Regions from separate parts of the Homo sapiens genome. Here all the other regions are linked to region 3. Evidence: promoter capture Hi-C in 16 types of primary human blood cells and fetal thymus (Javierre and others, 2016). All regions are on one chromosome and are shown on one strand. The core of a region is centred on a gene start or on the middle of the fragment in contact, and the rest is flanking DNA. Distances in the headings are between cores, read along the strand shown.

Region 1 (2,853 bases), core at 208-2,707, 1.2 Mb after region 3:
TAGATATATAGATACATAGATTAGACCTGATAGATATATGGATATATATACAGGATGGGTGGATAAATGAATAAATGGCTAGATACATGATATAGATAGAGCCAATACATACATAGGTACATAGACAGGGTAGGTGGGTAGATAGATGAAGACATGGATAGATAAATATACACAGAGATAGATCAATGATAGAAATGGGTATATAGATATATGAATGATAGAAGATATTTTGAGAGAGAGATGATTAATAGGCAATTGATTGACATATTAGATGACAGATAAAAAGTGGGTAAAATGCAAGTAAACTGTAAGCCAAACGTCCACGTGGAATAGCGTGGGAAGCATTGAGAAGACGCTTTTTGGTGCTACCTGTTTAAACATTGAAAAACTGAGCTAATACCCTCCACAGTACGATAGAGGGGAGGGCACTGGGAATTTATACCTCCCAGGAAAAATAAATCATGGTAAACAGGCAGAGATCTTTCCAGATTCCAGTTCTTGGGGGTAAAAGGTCCCCAAGATGCCCAGTTTGTGACAACCTGTTTTGAACTATTCAGCTCAAGGTTTCCATTTTTTCTCCCAGGGGAGTTGCCTCGATTCTGATGTGTTTGCTTCGGTGCTCTGTGTATTGTATTCATCCCACTCTTCAATTCATAAACTCTGGAGATTCTTCAATTCACTGGGCAAACCATATGCCTAAGTCTATCCTCTGATGGAGGCTCGTACATGCAAAATCCAATAGCAACCTGGGAAGATTTCAGTCAAGACCCAAGAGGAGGCTGGCATCAGGCTCTCGGTCACCGATCTTCACATTCAGGTTTCCTGATGCACTTTGCGACTCTTTGGGCAACCTCTGGACTCCTTGTTCCCAGGGTCCACATTTAGTTTTATCTTTACTGCATTGCTTTTATGAAAAAGAATAAAATTGGATGAAACAGATACAGAGTATTGGTGTCAACCTAAGTATTGGTGTCAACAAAGAGATGGTTTGGATCTGGTTCCCCACCACATCTTAGGTTGAGTTGGAATCCCCGGTTTGGAGGTGGCGCCTGGTGGGAGGTGACTGCATTATGCGGGTGGTTTCCATTGAATGGTTTACCACTGTCCCCCATGGTGCTGTTGTGGCGGAAGTGAGTTATCATCCAATCTGGTTGTTTAAAGGGTGCAACAACTTCCCCACCCCGTCCTGCTCCTGCTGTGGCCATGTAAGATGTGCCTGTTTCCCCTCTGCCTTCCGCCATGATTGTAAATTTCCTGAGGCCTCCCCAGCCGTGCTTCCTGTACTGCCTGTGGAACCGTGAGCCAATTTAAACCTCTTTTTCTTTATAAAATTACCCTGTCTCAGGTATTTCTTTATAGCAGCGTAAGGACTGACTAATACACTCTGTAATAGAAAAGATGTTTATTTGGGAGTATAGTAGTGCGCTGAGAATAGATGTGCCATATTAAACTGTGTTCATATTCAGGGAGGTAAAGGGGAAAAAAGGATTTTAAAGGAAATAATGAAGAGGATTCCATAATTCTTTTCAAATGATTATCCTTGGCTAAAAAGATCAATAACATGGTGACACCAGTCTGAGTTTGGACAGCCAGTTTTTGGGCAGATGTCCTCGTGGAAGTATTTTTCTTTGCAAGGGTGAGATTTTTGCAGTCTCTTACGATAGTTTTTGTTATCAGGCATATAAGCATAAAAACCATTAATATACACTAGAGATGCATTGAAGAGCTTATAAAATTGTTAAGGTTTTCTTCTTTGGTCAGTGTCTAAAATATGAGTCAGATATTTCCTTGGTTATCTTTGAGATTTATGTGGTCCCAGGTTTCTCCTGGGTGGGTAGAAATTACTGCAGCATGTACAAAACTGTCCTTCATGCCATATTTCTTCCTACCATTATACGATGAAAACTAACAAAAGAGAGTTTTATAAAATGTTCTTCCTCTTTCTCTCTGGTACCAATAGGAAGCACAATTGTTTCCCCATGGTTCTTCACAAAGGTTCTATTGCACTAAGTTTTAAAGCCTTGTGTATACACAATCACATTCACATATACCACACATACACGTGCATATACACAGTTACATCCGTACAGATACATACATGCACATGTATACACAGATAAACACATACATGCACAAATATAGACACATACACAGACACACATTCACATGTATGCGGACACACACACATAGACACATATACCTATGCACAGAAACCATACAGATATACACATACATAACATACATGCACAGGTATACATACAAACATACACAGATATGTGCATACACATATACACACATAACACATGCATGCACACATATCCACAAGCCTGCAGATATACACACGTACACACAGATATGCATATTCATACATACCAAACATACATTCATACTTACACCTATACACACACATACACAAACACATACAGAGATATACACACATGCACACAAATACATACACACATACATACACAGATACACATGTACATACATACCAAACATACATGCATACTTACACCTACACACATACACAAACACATATACACAAACACACATACACAGGGATATGCACATGCACACAGATACCCACATACACACGTACATACTCACATAGAGTTACACACACACACGTGCACACGCAACTTTGGCATAATGGAAATTTGATGATTGGTCATTGGAGTCAACCATACAGCCCCTGTCAGAAACAAAGGACCAAAGTCGAAGGGGACATGGATGCACAAACATCTCAACATCTACGGAACCACGTAACTTGGAGAAACATGCAACCAACTAAGGACAGAAGATTCGAGTGACTGCAACTCTGTTTTTTTTTTTTTTTTGAGATGGAGTTTCGCT
Region 2 (2,919 bases), core at 141-2,640, 1.2 Mb after region 3:
CATCCAGTTGTCCAGTGTAAGACTTAGGGACCCCTGAGCAGGCGGCCAGCTCTCAGCAAAGACAGCACAGTACCAGGGAAGGGTCACAGGAATTTTGGCACATGGCCAGCTGGTTCCACTGCACCTGCCCAGGGACGCTGGTCTCCAGGCTCCTGGCTTCTCAGCCTCAGCACAGATGTCTGCATCCCCAGAATTTTAAGGGAGGCTGCTGGAAGCCGGGGCAGGAGGTGGGATGAGAATGAAGCTTTTCAGAGCAGAGACCATAACAGACCAATTTTCAAATTGTCTGAAAATGGAGCATGACCCAAATTCTTAGGAGACTCTAGGGAGGAGAGGGAACCGCAATAATAGCCGACATCACATTTCCCAGGGGAGTGGAGTCTAAGAGTCAGATTTGAGTCCGTTTAGATTGAAATTGGAAAGATACAGAGATGGAAGAGTCTGATGTTTCCTCAAAAGGTTAACCGAAGACATACCATATGTAGTAGTTTGTTTTCACACTGCTGATAAAGACATACCCAAAATTGGGCAACTAACAGAAGAAAGAGAGGTTTAATGAACTTATAGTTCCATGTGGCTGGGGAGGCCTCACAATCATGGCAGAAGGCAAGGAGAAGCAAGTCACGTCTTACATGGATGGTAGCAGGCAAAGAGAGAGCTTGTGCAGGAAAACTCCCTTTTATAAAATCATCAGATCTCATGAGACTTATTCACTACCATGAGTACAGCATGGGAAAGACCTGTCCCCATGATTCAATTACCTCCCACAACACATGGGAATTCAAGATGAGATTTGGGTGGGGACACAGCCAAACCACATCACCCTATGAGCCAGCAATTCTGCTTCTGGGCACATACTCAAGAGAAAAACGAGAACACGTGTCCACCAAATAGCTTGTACATTTATACACGTAATGTTGATAGCTGCACTACTCAAAATAGCCAAAAAGTGAAGGTGACCCAAACGTCCCTCAGCCAATGAACGGATTTAACAAAATATGGCATATCCATACAGTGGAATGTGATTCAGGCAGAAAAAGGTTTCAAGTGCTGACACATGCTACAGTGTGGGTGAGCCTTACAAACATACACTGGCCAGGTGCAGTGGCTCCTTCCCGTAATCCCAACACATTGGGTGGCCAAGGCAGGTGGATTCCTGGAGGCCTGGAGTTTGAGACCAGCCTGGTCAACACGGTGAAACCCCATCTCTACTAAAAGGAAAATGCAAAAATTAGCCAGGTGCGGTGGTGCACACCTGTACTCCCAGCTACTCGGGAGGCTGGGGCACGAGAATTGGTTTAGCCTGGGAGATGGAGGTTGTAGTGTGCAGTGAGCCAAAATCATGTCACTGCACTCCAGCCTGGGTGACAGAGAGTGAGACTCTGTCTCAAACAAACAAACAAAAACAAAAACAAAAAAAAAACCAAAAAAGCCCACTAACCCTAATGATTGCTGATGAGCTTTTTATAAAAATCGCAATCTTGGTCTCCTAAGTCATATTTTGGGTGGCGTATCTTGGTCTCCTAAGTCATATTTTGGGTGGCATATCTCGGTATCTTATAGGACATTCCTTTAGGTATTGCTCATTCACCCAAGGTGGCAGATTCCTATGGATTCCATCATAAATCAAGGACATGAATGAAGCCAATATTCTGTTCCCTCCCATTATGAATAAGCATCATAAACAAGACACAGGAAAAACCATGTTTTGGCTCACGCTTTCCATAGAACTCCCATAGCCCTGAAATAGTCTGCTTTATTCATAGCAATGTGCCACCAGGACATACTTGTTTATTCCTTGCAGAAATTAAGGGTAATGACAACCACTTTCAGTTTAGCATACCATTTTGAGCATGTAACTGAAAAGTGCATTCACTGTATCTCCAAAAATAATGATATACATGCATATTTGTTTCTTGCAAACAAATATAAGTGCTCACACTATATCTCCAAAATGATATGCATGCATATTTTTTTCTTGCAAACAAAGTGCTCACGCTATATCTCCAAAATAATGATATGCATGCATATTTGTTTCTTGATAGGACAGATGTAAATATTTATGTGTGCTAAGATGTGGGGGACATTGAAAGGCTGCTGGGGTTTTTGCAGGCCCCTTAGAAGTGTTGCATGTGTTAAGAAGATGGGAAATACCCTCTTCCATAATTTATGGATGCTAACTACATTCTCTAGCTCCCTTTCAGAGCCTGTCAGATACAAATGTAAAATTGTGTTTCCTCTCTCCCCATTATTTTTCCATGGATGTCATTTAGGAAATGAAAACGAACTCATGAGGACATGAGGATTGGATTGGATTCGACCACGAGAGTGATGGAGGGGTTTCAACAAAGTTCACCAAACTCCAGGCTCTTCATGGTGTCTGTCCACATGATTCAAAGTGTGACACACCCAGGCTTCCCGGAATTTAATTGACAGGTAACGTTTCAACATGTTTTCTGGAAGCACAGAAAGTCTAGATTTCAAGGAGGTGACTCTTTTCTCCCCAAAGCAGACCTTGAGACCGTGATTTTACCGCAAAGCTTTTGTGTTTGGGGAGGGTGGGCGGGGGTGAGTCCCAGGGAGCAGTGGGAGGGGAGAGGGAGTGAAGACAGAGAGTGGAAGATATTATCAGGCCAGTGACTGCAATGAGAGCTTGGAGACTCAGGGTCATCCCACCGGAAGAGTGAGGAAGGCCGGGGTCTTTTTCTGTCGTTTCCCAACATGTGTTGGCTGAGGTTGCTTCCAGGATGGGGGCATATGCTAGTTTTCTTGCACTTCCAATCTGCTCAATGGGTGGTGTATTCGGCTCTTCTTGTACTGCTATAAAGAAATACCTGAGAATGGGTAATTGATAAAGAAGAGAGGTTTAATCGGCTCACAGTTCTGCAGGCTGGACAGGAAGCCTGACTGGGGAAGCCT
Region 3 (3,108 bases), core at 518-3,017:
CCGCCCCGGGTGGCAGGGGCTGGAGAGGAAGGAGCTTCAGGCTTCAAAACCATCAAAGCAGGTTTCTTCCGAGATGGCCAGTGGTCACCTGAGATGGAGCAGAGAGCACCTGTGGCGGGCATCTTCTCTAGAAGCCGCCTGTGAGCCCTACGGAGGCCCTGGGCTTCGTGCCGTAAGACAGACGGTGTCCTGCAGGTACGTGGGGGAACCCTGTAGGCAGGGACTTTGCCTGCTTTCTCAGAACAGGACAGAGGAGTTTGGCTGGGGCAGCCCGAGGTGACCGGGATGCTGTCGCCCCAGCTCTGGGCCAGGCTGATGTGGGAAGGGAGGAAGGAGGGACAGTTACGGGCCAGGCTGACGTGGGAAGGGAGGGAGGAGGGAGGTAGGAGGGACAGAGGCCTGGCTGCTCTGCAGGGCTGGGCTCCGTGGCATCTCCTGGTGGCTGTCAGGTCCTGCCTGGCCCCACGCTGAGGCCAGTGTGATGGAGGGGCCTGGAAGCCTCATCCTTCTTGATTGCCACGCGGTGAGGGCCACAGGCATGCGCCACCGCACTGGACTCCCCCTTTCATCATCAAAGCCAAATTTTCTTCTTGTTTCATCTAGGCCTCCCATGGAGACACCATGTGTGATTGTAAAAAAAAAAAAAAAATGAGTCAGGCCGGGCACGGTGGCTCACGCCTGCAATGCCAGCACTTTAGGAGGCCGAGGTGGGCAGATCACCTGAGGTCAGGAGTTCGAGACCAGCCTGGCCAACATGGTGAAACCCCGTCTCTACTAAAAATAGAAAAATTAGCCGCGTGTGGTGGCGCATGCCCGTAATCCCTGCACTGTGGGAGGCCGAGGTGGGCGGATCACCTGAGGTTAGGAGTTCTAGACCACCCTGGCCAACATGGTGAAACCCCGTCTCTACTAAAAATACAAAAATTAGCTGGGTTTGGTGGTGCGTGCCTGTAATCCCAGCACTTTGGGAGGCCAAGGTGGGCGGATTACCTGAGGTCGGGAGTTCCAGACCAACCTGGCCAACATGGTGAAACCCCATCTCTACTAAAAACACAAAAATTAGGCGGGCATGGTGGTGGGTGCCTGTAATCCCAGCTACTCAGGAGGCTGAGACAGGATAACTACTTGATCCCGGGAGGTGGAGGTTGTAGTGAGCCAAGATCGTGCCATTGCACTCCAGCCTGGGCAACAGAGTGAGATTCTGTCTCAAAAAAGAAAAAAACAGACCAAAAAAAAAACGGAGTCTGTCCAGAATTATACACAGTCACCTGTGCCAGGTAACAACCCTTCAGTCAACAACGGCCTTCCTAGACAGCGGAGGTCCCAGGAGATGGTAATACAGTAGTTTTCGTGTGCCTTTATTTGTAGACACACAAATCCCTACCATTGTATTACAGCAGCCTGCAGCACTGGGCACACTCACCTGCTGTCCAGGTTTGTAGCCCGGGAGCCTGGGGCCCTGCCGCACAGCCCAGGTGAGTAGCAGGCTGTATGTGCCACGGCGGTATGTGTGAGTGCACCCCGTGATGGGCACACAAAGAGAATTGCCTAAGGATGCATTTCCCGAAACAGGTCCCTGTCATTCAGTGACACACGTGACTGTGTGTGTGTGTGTGTGTGTGTGCGCACAGATGGGTGTGTATGTGTATGTATACACACCTGAACACTCACACCTCTACACACGTGCCTGTACACGGATAGAACACATAATTTACAGAATTTATGGAACACATAATTTATATTACATAAAATATATAGAGATCAGTTTTGTTTTCTTTTATTTATTTATTTAGACGGAGTCTCACTCTGTCGCCCAGGCTGGAGTGCAGTGGCACAATCTCGGCTCACTGCAACCTCCACCTACTGGGTTCAAGCCATCCTCCTGTCTCAGCCTCCCCCCTGTAGCTGGGATTATAGGCTCCTGCCACTATGCCCGGCTAGTGTTTGTATTTTGTGTAGAGACAGGATTTCACTCTGTTGGCCAGGCTGGTCTCGAATTCCTGACCACAGGTGATCCGCCCACCTCAGCCTCCCAAAGTGCTGGGATGACAGGCGTGAGCCACTGCACCCAGCCTATTTCAGCTGTTTTCTTAAAGCACAAAGCAACCTACACATTCTTTTGTGATACCAGGCCACTGTAAGGGTGGAGCAGCATGTGACTTTGGTGTTATTGAGATCATCCGTGACCATTGCAGAAAACCACTCCCATCTGTGCAGTGAGCACCTTGAAATAGGCCGCCCAGGAGGCAGAGGGTGCACCTTGAAATTGGGCTAGGAGGCGGAGCTTGCGCCTTGAAATAGGCCGCCCGGGAGGCGGGGCTTGCACCTTGAAATAGGCCGCCCAGAAGGCGGGGTTGCACCTTGAAATAGGCCACCCAGGAGGCGGGGCTTGCCCCTTGAAATAGGCCGCCCAGGAGGCGGGGTTGCACCTTGAAATAGGCTGCCTGGGAGGCAGAGCTCGCACCTTGATATAGGCCGCCCAGGAGGCAGGGCTTGCCCCTTGAAATAGGCCGCCCGGGAGGTGGGGTTGCACCTTGAAACAGGCCGCCTGGGAGGCGGAGCTTGCACCTTGTAATAGGCCGCCCGGGAGGCGGGGCTTGCACCTTGAAATAGGCCTAGAAGGTGGGGCTTCCACCTTGAAATAGGCCGCCCAGGAGGCGGAGTTTGCACCTTGAAATAGACTGCCCAGGAGGCGGAGGTTGCAGTGAGCCGAGATTGCATTATTGTACTCCAGTCTGGGTAAGAAGAGCTAAACTCCAGAGTCTGTCTCAGAAAAAGGAAAACAGCTGAAATATAGGAGACTGACGCCCAGCCCAGGAACAGGTAAGCTGGGTGCACGCGCCGTGAAAACAGCACCTAGGCCTGCTCCGGTTCTCGCTTTGCAGATGCCTCCTGAACCTCAGTGCCTCCTAAGGTCAAGGCTGTGAGTTAAAGGGCTCCACCCCAGCCCAGCCCCAGGTTGGCCCAGCCATTCCCTGGTGGAGGGGCCAGGGAGGAAAGGGGGCTGTGTGGGCACCAGAGGGTGAACTGAGGTCTGAGGGTCGGGACACAGGCCGGGAACAGCAGCTGGGAGCGGAGCACGGGGGAAACGTGGATGCGCTGAGCTCC
Region 4 (3,140 bases), core at 135-2,634, 1.1 Mb after region 3:
GAGATGCCATCTCTACAAAAAATTTAAAACATTAGCCAGGCGTGGTGGCTCACGCCTGTAAACCCAGCACTTTGGGGGACCCAGGTAGGAGGATTGCTTCGGCCCATGAGTTTCAGACCAGCCTGGGCAACGTAGCAAGACCCTATTGCTACACAAAAAAATTAAAACATTAGACAGGTGTGGTGGCTCACACCTGTAATCCCAACAGTTTGGGAGGCAAAGGAAGGAAGATCGCTTGAGCCCAGGAGTTCGAGACCAGCCTGAGCAACATAGCAAGACCCCGTCTACAAAACTTTAAAACATTAGTCGGATGCAGTAGCTGGTGCCTGTAATGCCAGCACTTTGGGAGGCTGAGGCAGGAGGACTGCTTGAGCCCAGGAGTTCGAGAGTAGCCTCGGCAACAGAGCAAGACTTCATCTCTACTTCCTATTACAAAAAATAATAATAATAATAAATTCTGAACCTGCAAATCTAGGAACAGAAGTTATCTGCATACACAAAACACAGTGGCGGTCATCACTGATGAGTTCAGACAGTGAACGAGTCCTGCAAAGTTGGAGATCTGTGACTCAGAGATGTTTACAAAGGCCAAGGAAACAAAGTTGCCACTTAACGGGCCTGCCCTCCCCACCAGACCTCCGTGGCTCCCCAGTGCCCGAGAAGCCGCCTCTGGGCCCCCTCTGGAGACGTCCTCCGGAGAAGGGCCCATCCTCACTTACCCTGGGGTGGGTAGGGGTCGAGGTCCCTGGGACGCCCGCTCCTCCCCTCCGGGGCCTGGCGGGGGCGCGCGGTCACTGGCCGACCGCAGGCGGCAGGCAGAGCCGCCTGATGTCTTGGGCGCGGGGCGTGCGAGCCCCCGGGTCCCCGGCCATGGCCCGGAGGTGTCAGGGTGCGCGGGGGGGCGGCTGCACGGGGGCTGCTTGGTTGGAGCCCGACCCGGGACAGGCGGGGAGGCCACACGCGCGGGGAGGGAAGGGTCGGGCCGGGTCGGGCCGGGCCAGGCGCGCAGAAGAGCCGGCGGGGACGGAAAGCGCGGGGCGGGGAGGTCCCAGCGCGCACGCCGCCCCCCCCCCACCCCCGGCCACACCTCGACCCCCGCCCAGCCCCACTTCCGGGAGCGCCACCGCCTCGCCAAGGTCACGCGGAGCCCCCGCGCCCCCGCCCCCGAGCCAGCCCGCGCCCACCCGGGTCCCCGGAGCCCTGACCCCTGCCCCGCCCCGCTGACCTGGCTCCAGGAAGCCCCCGCGGCAGCGCCGCAGCAGCTGCGCCAGGATCACCGCGGCGCCTACCGCGTAGACCCGCAGGGCCGCCCGCGCCGCAGACAATGGCGACATGGCTGCCCCGGCCGCGCCGCCGCCGCTTCCGCGCCGCCCGCGGGACTCTGCGCCCGCCCGCCCGGACGGACGGCGGAAACGCGCGCGCCCCGGACCGCCCCCTGCCCGCCCCGAACCGCCCCGGCCTGCGGGGAACCCCCAACCCCAGACCCCGCCCGGGCCCTCTGGGATCCCGCACCGCCTGCAGGACTGGGGACCCCGAGCGGACAACCGACCCCAGCCAGGACACCCCCCCCAGGACCACAGACTCCAGCCAGGAACCCCCCCCTGCAAGGACCATAGACTTCAGCCAGGACCCCCCCCCCCAGGACCACAGACCCCAGCCAGGACGCCCCCAGGACCACTGACCCCAGTCAGGACCCCCCCTTCAGGACCACAGACCCCAGCAGGGACCCCCCACACACACCCCCAGCCAGGACCACAGACCCCAGCCAGGAATCCCCCCCAGGACCACAGACCCCAGCAGGGACCCTCCACACCTCCTCCAGGACCACAGACCCCAGCAGGGACCCTTCCCCCTCCCGGCAGGACTGCAGACCCCAGCAGGGATCCCCACCACCACAAGACCAACAGCCCCAGCCAGGACGCCCCCAGGACTACAGACCCCAGCCAGCACCCAAGTCAGATCCATAGACTCCTCCCAAGAACACCCCCCAGGACCCCAGACCCCTGCTGGGACCCCCAAGACCACAGGCCCCCCCACTGGGGCACGCCCAGACACCCCACCAAGAACCCCACCAGGACTACAGACCTCCACCAGGACTCCCCAGTACCACAGATCCTCCCAGGGCCCCCCAGGACCACAGACCTCCACTGGGACCCCCACCACCAGGACCCCTCTCCAGGATCACAGACCCCTACTGGGGCCCCCTTCTAGGACCTCCACCTCCATCACAACCACCCCCCGGACCACAGGCCCCAGCCAGCACCCCACAAGACCACAGACCCCTGCCAGGACGCCCCCCAGGACTACAGACCCCAGCTGGACTGCCTCTCCAAGACCCCACACTCCAGCCAAGACCATGGAACCCCATTCAAGCCCCAGCCAGGACCCCCACCATGGGATCACAGATCCCCTACCCAGACCCTGCAGGGGACCAGGACCACCACGGGAACCACCCTCCCCATCTTAGCCAGAATCATGTAACCCCACGCAGACCTCAGCAGGGACCACAAGGACTTGGACCCCATAGGGAACCCCAGACAACCACCCAGAGCCATGCCAGGATTATGGACCAGGACTCCCACAGAGGACTCTGAACAGCTGTAAGGACCATGGACCCCACACCCTAATTCGTACTGACACCACAGAACCTGCCCCAAGCACGGACCCCACACCCCAGTTCCTGCTGACACCACAGAACCTGCCCCAAGCACGGACCCCACACCCCAGTTCCTACTGAGACCACAGACCCCACCCCAATTCCTGCCAGGCCACAGACACCACCCACCAAACCTACCCCTCCACTTCCCTGCCCCCAACAACCCTGCAGGGATCACAGACCCCCTTCCCGGCCCCTGCAGAGAACTCCAGACTACTTCAGGGACCACGAGCCCCCTCCCCACCCTGATCCCTACTGGGACAGCAGACCCCTACTCAGACCTTGGTTGGGAACCCCAGACAACCACAGAGTTACCTGGGCTCCCTCAGGGAACCCCAGACCAGCACAGAACCCCCACCCAGACCCTTACCAGGGCCAAGGCTGAAATCCCACATGGACCCCCCAGCAGACTCCTACTGGAATTCTTCATGGAACCCCCCACCCAGACACTCAGACCTTCACCCCACCACAACCCTCCCAGTCC
Region 5 (3,006 bases), core at 94-2,593, 1.1 Mb after region 3:
CCAACCTAGGCGACAGAGTGAGACTCCATCTCAAAGAAAAAGAAAGAAAACATGAGAAAAATCCCAATAAAAGGACTTCCGTCAAAAGGCTTGCCCAGTGCTTTTCAAAGCTGTCCAGGTCATTCATCTGAATCAAGAAACGTCTGGAAAACTGTCCCAGCCAAGAGGGAACCCAGGTAGAAGTAATAACTAAACACCCTGTGGAACTGTGGGGCCTGTGAAAGGAAACTAACCCGGGCCCCGACAAGCTGGGAAGTGCCCAGGGCAAATCGGCCTCTCATTTTATTCAAGGTCACCCCTCTGCTTACTGAGATAGACGCATATTCTAATTGCCTCCTTTGGAGAGGCTAATCAGAAACTCAAAAGAAGCAACCATATGTTTCCCACCTACCTGTGACCTGGAAGCTCCCTCTCTGCTTCCAGTTGTCCCCGCCTTTCTGGAAGGAACCAATGGACTTCTTACATATATTGATTGATGGCTCATGTGTGCCTAAAATGTATAAAACCAAGCTGTGCCCCGACCACCTAGGGCACATGTCATCAGGACCCCATGAGGCTGTGTCACAGGTGCGCATCCTTAACTTTGGCAAATAAACTTCCTAAAATGATTGACAATTGTCTTCTAATTTTCTTGACTGACAGACCCTGGATGGGATCCTAAACATTAGAAAAAAACTAAAGAAATCTGAATAGGGTATGGGCTGGTTAATAGTAATGTATCAAGAGTGGTTGGTTAATTGCCACAAATGCACCGTACTAATTGAAGATGTTTATGACGGGGGTATAAAAGAGCTCCTTGTGGTATGTTTGAAACTTTTCTGCAAATCTGAAATCATTCTGAAACAAAAAATGTAACTTAAATCGACATTAAATGTCAAATTGCACTCTGTTAAAGAATCAAGATTAAGATTCAAGTTCCTCTCAATAAACTACAGATTAAAAACCCCTCAAAGGGCCGGGCACAGTGGTTCATGCCCTGTAATCCCAGCACTTTGGGAGGCTGAGGCAGGTGGATCACCTGAGGTCAGGAGTTTGAGACCAGCCTGGCCAACAAGGTGAAACCCCATCTCTACTAAAAATACAAAAATTAGCCATGTGTGGTGGTGTGTACCTGTAGTCCCAGCTACTCGGGAGGCTGAGGCAGGAGAATCGCTTGAATCCGGAGGTGGAGATTGTAGTCAGCTGAGATCGTGCCGTTGTACTCCAGCCTAGAGACAAAGCAAGACTCTGTGTCAAAACAAAAACAAAAACAAAAAACAAACAAACAAAAACCCTCCAACGATCTCCTCAATCTCTTCTAACTCTATGCATGAGAATCTGTAAATATTATAGCAGCAGGCAGCATTACAGAGCCCCAAAAGACCTATGTTCGTTCAACATGCCCTGATTCACTATTTCGCCCAAGGAGACTCTGATAGCAGAGGCGACATGTCAGTTCATCTTTTATTCAATGCAGAAGTGTCCCAGATTGATTCTGTCTTCAGAAACTGTGCTGACTGCAATACTCTAAAAACTGAGCCTATACCTGGGTAAGCTGGTTTTCTGTGAAACAAGTTTATAGGAGAAGCATCACAGATCACCCAGTGTTTAAAATATCACTGCATTCAAATATCATTATTTAAAAGAAATGAATACAATCATCATAATAAAAATGCAATCTTTCCAGCATGAGTTTCTGGGGAATCTGCATATTTTTGATCCTCTTGGGTCCTGTGTCATCCTCCCTGACACGGAGATAACATTGTAAACGTGAGGTTTTTGAAATTACGTAAGTGATATTCTGTGAAATATCAACCATAATGATTGTATGCAGTAAGTGTTCAATAAATACTAAATGTGATTTTTGTGATGTGCGATACATGTCAACGCTTCACTTTAAAATTGGTGGAATTACTCTAATAATTATTTTCCCATGAAAAATGTGGTATTTAGCACTTTTATTGGCATCTTACACACAGTGTGTCTGTTATTCCCCCAGACATTGTAGGTTAGTCTTCGCTTCCCTCCCATTTCCTCTCCTCTCCTCCCCTTTCCTTTTTCCTCACTCTCTTCCTCCCTTCCTCTCTCTCTCTCACCCTCTCTTTCCTTCTTTCTTCCCTCCCTCCCTCCCTTCCTTCCTTCTCGACAGGGTCTTGCTCTATCACCCAGGCTGGAGTGCAGTGGCACACTCACACCTTACTGCAGCCTCAAACCCCTGGGGTCAGTTTGTCTTTCCATCTCGGCCTCCTGAGTGGCTGGAACTATAGACAAGCACTCACCATACTCAGCTAAATTTTTTTATTTTTTGTAGAGCTGGGGGTTCTCACTATGTTGCCCAGGCTGGTCTTGAACTCCTGGGCTCAAGCAATCTTCCCACCTTGGCCTCCCAAAGCACTGGGGTTATAGGCATGAGCCACTGCACCCAGCCTGGGTGATAGAGTTATTTTTTTCTTATATTTCATCACATATCCATGCCTGGGTTACCTTCCATAGTGTTATTTTACCACAACGACAACAAAATTCCTTTAAAAATTTTTTTCTAGAAATCCATAAATACATATGTCAACAAAGTTAAGCTGTTGAGTTAAGCCTAGTTAGGTGAAGGTTTGCCTTAGAGGTAGTGTGTTTAGACTTGACTTGGGAAAAATAGACACATATTGGAGGAATCCTCTGGAATTTAAGGGCACGGAAGAATGTTGGTGATATGGTTTGACTGTCCCCACCCAAATCTCATCTGAATTGTAGCTCCCGTATTTCCCACGTGGTGTGGGAGGGACCAGGTGGGAGATAACTGAATCATGAGGGCGGTTTCCCCGATACTGCTCTTGTGGTAGTGAATGAGTCTCAAGAGAACTGATGGTTTTATAAGGGGAAACCCCCTTCACTTGGCTCTCATTTTCTCTTGCCTCCACCATGTAAGATGTGCCTTTCGCCTTCCACCATGACTGTGAGGCCTCCCCGTCACGTGGAACTGCGAGTCCATTAAACCTCTTTTCATGATCAATTATCGGGTCTCCTCAGGTATGT
Region 6 (2,830 bases), core at 326-2,825, 1.2 Mb after region 3:
TTCTAGTATACTTTTTTTCTGAACACATAGGTTCTCATACCATGAGATTTCTTATTTCTATACAATGTATGTGAAAAATCATGTGCTTTTTATTCATTGCTTGTGTATTTTAATATGGTTTTGAAAAAAAGATTCATTTTGATGTAGCCCCTCATGTTTCTTTCATTTGAGCCTCCCTTATCACTCCCAATATAAAATGTGCCTCGACCTTAATTGGGATTTGAAAAGCTTGGAACTAGAAGGCTGGGCCAGGTAAGGTGGCTCACACCTGTAATCCCAGCACCTTAGGAGGCCAAGGCGGCTGGATCACTTGAGGTCAGGAGTTCAAGACCAGCCTGACCAACATGGAGAAACCCTGCCTCTGCTAAAAATACAAAAATTATCCTGGCATGGTGGTGCATGCCTGTAATCCCAGCTACTCGGGAGGCTGAGGCAGGAGAATGGCTTGAACCCGGGAGGCAGAGGTTGCAGTGAGCCGAGATCACACCACTGCACTCCAGCCAGGCAAAAGGACAAAACTCCATATGAAAAAAAAAAAAAAAAAGAACTAGAAGGCTGGCTTTGAAACTAGCATGAATGTCACATTAGTTTGTGGAGCCCAGCTGGGTGGGTAGAGCCACTTTTCAGACACAGATCAGAATCCGTCAGTCACAGATCAGATCACAGTCACCTGCCCTACCTCTTACGGTCTGCCTTGCTGAAGGTGTTGGGGACCTGGGAGGAGATAATGGGGAATCAACGGGACAGAGTTGTGTGCAGGCAGATTCAGAGTCCCAACTGGGTCCAGGCAGCACAGTTGATTTACAAATGACATTCTTTCTCTCTCCCTCTTTCTCTTGCTGTCATCTCTTACTCTTTTCATCTGGGGGAAGAATGATGTGAAAATGATCAGGAATTTACTTTTTCAAATGAGATCCTAGTCAGTGTGATATTCAGAAAAGTCTTTAGTCATGTGGGTCTCTGGTGATTTCTCCATCTGTTTCCGAGGTCATTCCTTCCTCATTTCTCAGAGCTTTACTATGAACAGACCGATTCCTTCCTTTAGGGGCAGACTTTGACTTAGCAGATGCCTTTGGTGAGGGAGGAAACAGTGAGTAACTCGTTAAAGTCTCCTCTGTTGCTGATTTGTTATTGTCACCAAATGACTGTCATTTCCAAGAGACTTATCTCTTTTGCATAATCCATGGATTGGGTTTATACAGTGGAAATATTGGAAGTATATGCCTTGTTGTGTTTTATTTTTGTTGTTGTTGGATTTTTGTTTTTTTTCCCACCAATATGCTGGCTTTTATTTTAAAATTGTTACAGACTTTGGAATGATATAAGGCAAATGTCACTTCCCTGGCCAGGTCAGACTTCATGGGCATGTGACATGTGATGTCACACAGGGACCTGTGCATACAAGGGCACCATATTGGTGTATTACTCAGTAGCTGCCATCTTGAAATTCGTCATAAAATTGGAACAGAATCTTGCATTTTCATTTTGTGCAGGGCCTCTCAAATTCTGGAGGTGGTCTGGACACCTGGCTTAGTTTTCTTTGAAAATACTTGAAGTTAAATCCTGTAGCTGGAAGATGATGGAAGGGAATTGGCAGGAGGCTATGTGTATGGGCATCCCCACCACGACAAAAACAAGGGTCATTTTTTACCTGTTTAGTGAAAGGTCTCTATGCAAATTGATTTTTCATTTCCTTTTCTGGTCGCCATGGAAATTGATTTTTCATTTTCTTGACTGCAAGGCACTGATGATCGCCAACTCTCATGTTTTACAAACAGGTGACCCAGCACCACCTAATCCCCCCAAACCAAAGCCAGATCCAAATCCCAACTGACCTGGTTTCACTGATAAGAGCCTCTAACCCTACGGGGTGGTCTCTATGTTGTTTACCTGGCAGTGATGTCCGTGTCATCTGAGAAGAGGAGATTTCAGGTGAGCCTGTTCCTACTGTTGAATTACAAGGTAATTCCAGTGTTCAAGTAGTGGAAAACCTAGATTACGAAAATATGTTTTTGGTTTGGATTTTATTTTCCTTTTCTTGATTTTACTTCAAAGATAAATGGAACTTCCAAATCATTGAATAAGAGCTTTTAGATGTAGACTTGATATGAGGAAAAGAATCTGTGTGTTTCCCATGGAGAAGCCAACTTGTTTTAAACAATTAGATTTTTACTGAGTGTTTTTCTTTACATGTTTGTTTAATTTTTAACACAGAAATCTATCCAGATGGTCTAAATCCTGTTGACATTTTTATGGTTTTTTGCTGGTTATGTTATTATTGGCATAAGAATATTCCTTGACCATTTTCTCATGTCATTTAATCGTTTGTATCATACGACTTTACATTATTATACTACAGACTTAATTACATACTTTGGTTTCTTTAAGTAATCCCTAATTCTGAAGTTATGTTTCTTCTGATGTTTTGGAATTATCAATTACAAAGCAAATTTGACTGCCCTTCATGCACTTTCCTTTATGTTTGAAGATATATTTCTAGAGTGCAAGTTGTTTACATCGATGTGTGTGAGTACTTTTGTAGCTTCTGACATGGTTTTGAAATTGCCCCAGAATTGCACCAATTTATTTTGATGGCGGCGGGGTGTGCAGATGACCCTTTCCTCACACCGTCTCCGATATTGGTGTTCACCAAAACATCTTTATCCAGTAGTGCAAAATGTCATGCTAACCTTGTCTTAGTTTCACGTCTTTAATTCTGAAACTTGAAACAAAAACAATGCATCAGTGGGCCATGGAGACTTCTTCTTCTGTGTATGGGATACTGTGTCTTTTATTCTTCTATTCTGGTATGTCCTCCCTGATTTCTAGT

Evidence for each region. The method cuts DNA at HindIII sites, captures the fragments that hold promoters and counts their contacts. A CHiCAGO score of 5 or more calls a contact.
Region 1: a contact is called between a fragment that was not itself captured here and the fragment with the promoter of ASMTL-AS1 in region 3, in 1 of 17 cell types (naive CD8 T cells). The highest score is 5.6, in naive CD8 T cells.
Region 2: a fragment that was not itself captured here is called in contact with the fragment with the promoter of ASMTL-AS1 in region 3 in 3 of 17 cell types (activated CD4 T cells, total CD4 T cells and naive CD4 T cells); the score reaches 7.9 in activated CD4 T cells.
Region 4: a contact is called between the fragment with the promoter of DHRSX here and the fragment with the promoter of ASMTL-AS1 in region 3, in 6 of 17 cell types (naive CD8 T cells, total B cells, activated CD4 T cells and 3 more). The highest score is 13.5, in naive CD8 T cells.
Region 5: a contact is called between a fragment that was not itself captured here and the fragment with the promoter of ASMTL-AS1 in region 3, in 1 of 17 cell types (total B cells). The highest score is 6.3, in total B cells.
Region 6: a fragment that was not itself captured here is called in contact with the fragment with the promoter of ASMTL-AS1 in region 3 in 2 of 17 cell types (naive CD4 T cells and total B cells); the score reaches 6.0 in naive CD4 T cells.

Annotation. Positions count from the first base shown.
Region 1 is chrX:2,637,391-2,640,243 of GRCh38, forward strand. It overlaps the pseudogene CD99P1. Among named protein-coding and RNA genes, the nearest start is that of LINC00102, 23 kb to the left of the region's middle. The HindIII fragment of the contact is 6,491 bases long and covers 1-2,853 here.
Region 2 is chrX:2,594,618-2,597,536 of GRCh38, forward strand. All of the region lies in intron 1 of LINC03112 (long intergenic non-protein coding RNA 3112), which reads right to left. Among named protein-coding and RNA genes, the nearest start is that of LINC03112, 13 kb to the right of the region's middle. The HindIII fragment of the contact is 2,296 bases long and covers 243-2,538 here.
Region 3 is chrX:1,398,764-1,401,871 of GRCh38, forward strand. ASMTL-AS1 (ASMTL antisense RNA 1) reads left to right here and starts at 1,768. Exons shown (of 6, transcript NR_026711.1): 1 at 1,768-1,823; 2 at 2,699-3,108. LINC00106 (long intergenic non-protein coding RNA 106) reads left to right here. Exons shown (of 3, transcript NR_130733.1): 2 at 62-195; 3 at 604-649. LOC124900597 (serine/arginine repetitive matrix protein 1-like) reads left to right here. Exons shown (of 5, transcript XM_011546186.2): 5 at 62-98. The HindIII fragment of the contact is 21,745 bases long and covers 1-3,108 here.
Region 4 is chrX:2,499,592-2,502,731 of GRCh38, forward strand. It overlaps DHRSX (dehydrogenase/reductase X-linked), which reads right to left and starts at 1,385. Exons shown (of 7, transcript NM_145177.3): 1 at 1,226-1,385. The coding sequence starts at 1,334. It overlaps ZBED1 (zinc finger BED-type containing 1), which reads right to left and starts at 1,385. Exons shown (of 2, transcript NM_001171136.2): 1 at 1,226-1,385. The HindIII fragment of the contact is 4,150 bases long and covers 1-3,140 here.
Region 5 is chrX:2,523,742-2,526,747 of GRCh38, forward strand. No RefSeq gene overlaps it. Among named protein-coding and RNA genes, the nearest start is that of ZBED1, 24 kb to the left of the region's middle. The HindIII fragment of the contact is 8,308 bases long and covers 1-3,006 here.
Region 6 is chrX:2,614,038-2,616,867 of GRCh38, forward strand. It overlaps LINC00102 (long intergenic non-protein coding RNA 102), which reads right to left and starts at 1,310. Exons shown (of 2, transcript NR_037842.1): 1 at 680-1,310. It also overlaps the pseudogene CD99P1. The HindIII fragment of the contact is 2,699 bases long and covers 227-2,830 here.